Regions from separate parts of the Homo sapiens genome. Here region 2 is linked to region 1. Evidence: promoter capture Hi-C in 16 types of primary human blood cells and fetal thymus (Javierre and others, 2016). All regions are on one chromosome and are shown on one strand. Each heading gives the region's core, a stretch centred on a gene start or on the middle of the fragment in contact. The rest is flanking DNA. Distances are from core to core; before and after follow the strand shown. Region 1 holds the start of HEMK2 (HemK methyltransferase 2, ETF1 glutamine and histone H4 lysine). Region 2 overlaps LOC107985486 (a long non-coding RNA gene).

Region 1 (2,978 bases), core at 150-2,649:
TAGCACTGAACTCCCAAAACAACTACCCAGTGACAAGCTCCAGAGGTTTTAAACTTTTGGAACCAGTCTACACATCTGACAAGTCTTTATTAGGTGGTAGTAAGGTCTGAGAATCTCACCAGGTGGCTTCTCTTTGAAAATAACTATCATGGTCTCATAAATAATTAGAATTCCAAACTAGAAATAACCCAAGACTTTATAACAAAATCAGCTCCTTTTACAGCATACTTTGCAGTGCAATTTGTGCTTGTAAATCTTTCTGGGCTATCTTGAGAAGAAAAGACAAGTTATAAAACAGTACTGTTCCACTGTATATTCCAGTAGATCCAAAAGTTCCATCATCTACAATGAAAGACTAGTTTAATAAGAGCTGGGACATTTTATACTGGAGAAATATGACCAAGTTTAAGAGGGATAAATAAATACAATATAGATCTTTGAAACCTGAAAGCTGTTTGTTCCATCCTGAGAAAACCCAGTTCATCTTATCTTCAAACAAATCTAACAACCCAAATTCCTTACATTTAAAAATCACAATGTCAGTATTCATTCCTTCTGCTATTAATTTAAAATTGATGGCGATCACTTCAATAAATCCATTTAAATAAAGTGCTAGGGTAGACTATTGTCTGCTAGCTGCATGTAACTTTTTTTTGGTAACAATTAAATGAAAAATTCAGTTCCTCAATAGCACTAGCCACATTTCAAGCGCTCTGTAGCCACATGTGAGGACTGGCTGGTGCTAGAGTATGCTATTCAGTGGGTTTAAAAATATTTCCCCACTCCAGTAACACAACTTTCTTTCATGTTTGTTAAGGGTGCTTTCTATGTGCTGAGTAAATCAAATAATACCATGCAATTTTAATATGTAATACTTTAAAAATATTAATAAGCAATGTTTCCGGAATATTTTGTTTCCAAACGTGTTATACTATCGCTTCTCTCAGGGACATGTGTTCTTCAGATTAACAGGCGACAGGAAAAGATACGCCTTTGCATGGTAAGCAGTCAGGGAGCTCATGAGACAGAGCAGCCCCCTGGCAAAGGAGATGCGTCCCCGGCACACTCATTACTTGTAGCTACAGGAAAATTCTCAATTACGGCGTCCTGGCTGTCAATCATCTGCAAGTGGACCCCGCCTGCTCCGGCTCAGGGCGGTGATAGTCACCGTTCCGGCCCTCCTCCACCGCACTTCTTCAGAAAGCCGCAACCCTTTCCCGTCAGAGCCCCTCCCCTCCTCGCACCCTGCCAGTTCGGCAGCCGCTGCCTCCAGCGCGTCCAAAAGCAGAAACGTGTCCTCCGCGGGCTCGTACACGTCGCTGAAGGCGCCGCGGCCCACGTGCCCGTGGAACGGCGTAGCGAAGTTCTCCCCTGCCATAGTCCTTCGCTGCGTTCCATGCGCGTGCGCAGGGCGTGCGCATGCGCATGCGCATGCCCTCACCCTCATGCGCAGGCCTAGGAGTGGGGCTGGCGTCCCGGGCGACCAGTGTGTTGTTGTTGGGTCTTAATTCTAAATTTGTCAGTGGCTCTCCTTGAAATTGCTAAGTAGACAGTTGTATAATCCGTGACTATTGACATTTGCTTTCTTCTTTGGAACATTTAAATTTTATTCTGTGAACTAGAACCTGATAGTGGGCATTCTGAGTTGTTTTTGACTAAGGTGAATGTTCTTTCTTCATTCTAATGATATTTGGAAATTCTGTTTTATTCCTAGTTTGCAAGGATTTGAAAAAATACATAATAAATTTTACTGTTTTTTTGTCAGCTGAACTTTAAGCTTTACGCTATAAAGATGAAGACTTTCCTCGTTTTTTTACTGTACTTTATAAATTGCCTTCCTGATGAATCATGAATGCACTCTTTTTATAAACCTTAAGCAAGATGATGCGGTTTAATACACTGCTGAATTGGGGAGGCTAATAATCTGGCTCCGTTTTTTTTTACCAAGATTACGCTACCCTCGTTATGTGAGTTAGGACACTGTTTCTGGAACATTAGGTAGAAAGCCTTAAAACTGGCTGGGCTTGGTGCCTTTTTGAGTGAATGGATCTTTGATGTTTTGGAACATCTGTAAGTTATTAGACTATTCAAGTATTTGCATTCTTTTTGAGTCAATTTCTGAAATTTGTTTCGCAATGAAACATTTTTACAGCTCGTTTTTTAAATTTGAGAAATAAAAATACAGAAAAGTATTTGAGGTACAAATTTTATTTTATTTTATTTCTACTTATGTATTTTTTTTTTTTGGAGACAGAGTCTCGCTGTATCCCCCAGGCTGGAGTGCAGTGGCGCGAGCTAGGCTCACTGCAACCTCTGCCTCCCAGGTTCAAGCGGTTCTCCTGCCTCAGCCTCCGGAGTAGCTGGGATTACAGGCGCCTGCAGCCACGGCTGCCTAATTTTTGTATTTTTAGTAGAGACGGATTTTCCCCATGTTGGCCAGGCTGGTCTCAAACTGCTGACTTCAGGTGATCCACCCGCCTTGGGCTCTCAAAGTGCTGAGATTACAGGTGTGAGCCTTTAACGCACCCGGCTGGGTTACAAATTTCAAAACCCCAAGTTTTAAACCCAGAAATGACAGTATTTTCTCATGTTTCCTTAAAATATTTTTTAAATACAAGAACTAAAATATTACAAATAAGATGGATGTTCTTTCTCTATTTGCCTTCAGTTTAATTGTGTAACATTCTCTCCAAGGCTCTTATGGATTTAGTGTATGTCCATCTAATCCATGTAAAAACATGGATCTTGTATTTATACGTTTATAAACATTCATATCTTTATAAGCAACATACGGTGTATTTTAAAATTTACATAACTGGTACTAGGTTGGACATATTTTTCAAATTTCTTTTTCAGTCAACATTATATGAGATTTATGTTTTGATATATGGTTAGGTTACTCCTCTTAACTGCCATATAGAATTTTATTATGTAAAAATATGAAAAATATATATATATAGAAAGAGTTGTACTTGATC
Region 2 (2,978 bases), core at 355-2,854, 570 kb after region 1:
AGTTTTGTAATTTTAGTAAAGATGGGGTTTCACTATGTTGGCCAGGCTGGTCTTGAACTCCTGACCTCAAATGATCCCCCCAACTCAGCCACCCAAAGTTCTGGGATTACAGGCGTGAGCCACTGCGCCCAACCCAGACCATAGCTTTTTGTATTACAGTCCCAAATACAAGTTAATTATTTCATCAATTAAACAAAAATATACACATATATATTATATAATGTATATACATATATATACATATGTATATATTATATTGTATATATGTATATATAAACATTATATATATATGTATTTATACGTATATTTTATATATACATATGTGTGTGTGTGTGTATGTATAGTTCTACAGTCCTTGACGTATTTTGAAAATTCCAAAATTGGCTGGGTGCGGTGGCTCACATCTGTAATCCCAGCACTTTGGGAGGTTGAGGCATGCTGATCATCTGAGGCCGGGAGTTTGAGACTAGGCTGACCAACATGGAGAAACCCTGTGTCTACTAAAAATACAAAATTGCCTGGGTGTGGTGGCGCATGCCTGTAATCCCAGCTACTTGGGAGGCTGAGGCAGGACAATCATTTGAACTCAGGAGGCGGAGATTGTGATGAACCAAGATCATACCATTGCACTCCAGCCTGGGCAACAAGAGCGAAACTCCGTCTCAGAAAAAAAAAAAAGAAAATTCCAAAATGAAGGGTTATTTGGGAAAAATCTATAAGCTTACCTTTGTTCAATAGACACATTCATGAACAGCTGTGTGTAAAGTTATGTCTAGATAGAACAATATTTAAAATGCATAATTGTGTACACTATTTTAAATAACCCTGGATAAGATATTCCAAAATTTAAGGAAAATTGTAGTAATTTGATTTTTTAAATATACACATTTTAGTTTTGTGTGTGTGCATGTTTAGAGTGAAGCACACTCATATAGGAAGTTATTGGCTGAGCATGGTGGCTCATGCCTGTAATCCCAGCACTTTGGGAGGCTGAGGCTGGTGGATCATGAGGTCAGGAGTTCGAGACCAGCCTGGTCAACCTGGTGAAACCTCCCTCTCTACTAAAAATACAAAAATTAGCTGGGTATGGTGGCACACGCCTGTAATCCAAACTTACTCGGGACACTGAGTCAGGAGAATCACTTGAACTTGGGAGGTGAAGGTTGCAGTGAGCCAAGATCATGCCACTGCACTCTAGCCTGGGCGACAGAGTGAGACTCCATCTCGAAAAAAAAAAAAGAAGCTGTCAATATCAAGAGGCTTTGTAAAACCTCCTTTGAAGGCATTTAAATGAGAATTTTTTTTTTTTTTTTTGAGACAGGGTCTCATTCTGTCGCCCAGGCTGGAGTGCAGTGGTGCAATCTCGGCTCACTGGAGCCTATACCTCCCGGGTTCAAGTGATTCTCTTGCCTCAGCCTCCCGAGTAGCTGGGGCTACAGGTATGCACCACCACGCCTGGCTAAGTTTTGTATTTTCAGTAGAGACGGGGTTTCACCATGTTGGCCAGGCTGGTCTTGAACTCCTGACCTCAAGTGATCCGCCCTCCTCAGCCTCCCAAAGTACTGGGATGACAGGCGTGAGCCACCGCACCTGTCCTGTTTTTCATTTTTATTTTTTTACCTAAGCTAGGACGTTTTGTTTTTGTTTATTTTGATCTGTACTTGCTGTCCCTGGGTATAATGTGTAGAGGGTTCTGTGTTAGGGCCTGAGTCTTATTTGTATACTCATCGCTCCAATTTTCTGATTCAGTGGTTCTTATCCTACCCTGTACACAAATATTATCTAGGATGTTTGTTAAAATATAGCTGGGACCCAATTAGAAATTCTGACTCAAAAGTATTGGGGTAGGACTTAGGAGTCTGCATTTTAACAAGATCTCTAGTTCCTTTTAAGGAAGATAGTCCATTGACTACAATTTTAGAAACACTGCTTTAGATCATTTAATAGTTGAGATTTGGTGTATCAAGGGGCATTTCCCCAGCTTGGTTATCAGAGATGGAAGTATTCCTCATGTCTCACAATAGCCCTAAAGGATAGAACACCTGATATAAAATGGTGCTCTTAGTCACATAGAAAAGAATGTGGAATTTAAGATAGTAATGTTAGGGGTAGACATTTGAATAAATAATTTTTGCCTAATTAGCTTTCAATGGTTAGCTTATGACAGAAAATGTGCAAAGGCAGATATTAGAATTTTACAATCCTTCTGATTGAAAATAGTAATTTTTTATTTTTTTTTCTGTTCTATTTAGACCTTTAATGGCCTGGGTGATATCCACCTACCTCGGTGAGGACAGTTTTTTTTACTCAGTTTACTGAGTCAAATGCTAATCTCTTCCAGAAAGACCCTCACAAATACACCCAGAAATAGTGTTTTACTAACTATCTGGGCATCCCTAAGCCCAGTCAAGTTGACATATAAAATTAACCATCACACAGGAGGCCATTTAAAAGTTTTTTTGTGAGGCTCAATTACGATAATCCATGTACAAGCTTTCTGAAATGCGTAAGTTATGATACATTTGAAAAGTGTAACATCACTGATGCTCCTTGCCATAAACTTAGGCAATATGAAACAATCTTGCTCTTAGAACCACTTCAAATGATTGGTAAATTGGGGTCACTTATGGTAATTTTATTTATAATCTTTAATCTTGTATCTACATCTCTTTTCTCCTCTTCCTTCTCTTACATTCAGTAAATCTAAGGCTTCTTTGAGTTTCTGTGCCCTCTCTTACCTATTGGCAATGTCTGTAAAGACACAGCTCACCTCTTTCTTCTCTTCTGGGAAATATTATTAGCCATTATGCTTTCAGCCCACATTTGTTCACTTATTATTTCCCTGTGTAGACCCTACAAAATGGGAACCAGATCTTTTTCTATAGTTTTAGATAAAGGTAGTCTGGCAGTTTTCTAGAGAAATTCATTATTAGAAATTTATTCTAATGGGAACCCATTTTTGGCTTACTCTGTTGGTT

What was found. The method cuts DNA at HindIII sites, captures the fragments that hold promoters and counts their contacts. A CHiCAGO score of 5 or more calls a contact.
Region 2: a fragment that was not itself captured here is called in contact with the fragment with the promoter of HEMK2 in region 1 in 1 of 17 cell types (naive CD8 T cells); the score reaches 5.8 in naive CD8 T cells.

The regions. Positions count from the first base shown.
Region 1 is chr21:28,883,968-28,886,945 of GRCh38, forward strand. It overlaps HEMK2 (HemK methyltransferase 2, ETF1 glutamine and histone H4 lysine), which reads right to left and starts at 1,400. Exons shown (of 6, transcript NM_013240.6): 1 at 1,245-1,400. The coding sequence starts at 1,378. RefSeq lists enhancers at 699-1,258, 1,254-1,313, 1,259-1,817. The HindIII fragment of the contact is 10,284 bases long and covers 1-1,775 here.
Region 2 is chr21:29,450,528-29,453,505 of GRCh38, forward strand. The region is part of intron 1 of LOC107985486 (a long non-coding RNA gene); the gene reads left to right. Among named protein-coding and RNA genes, the nearest start is that of BACH1-IT3, 44 kb to the right of the region's middle. The HindIII fragment of the contact is 1,773 bases long and covers 719-2,491 here.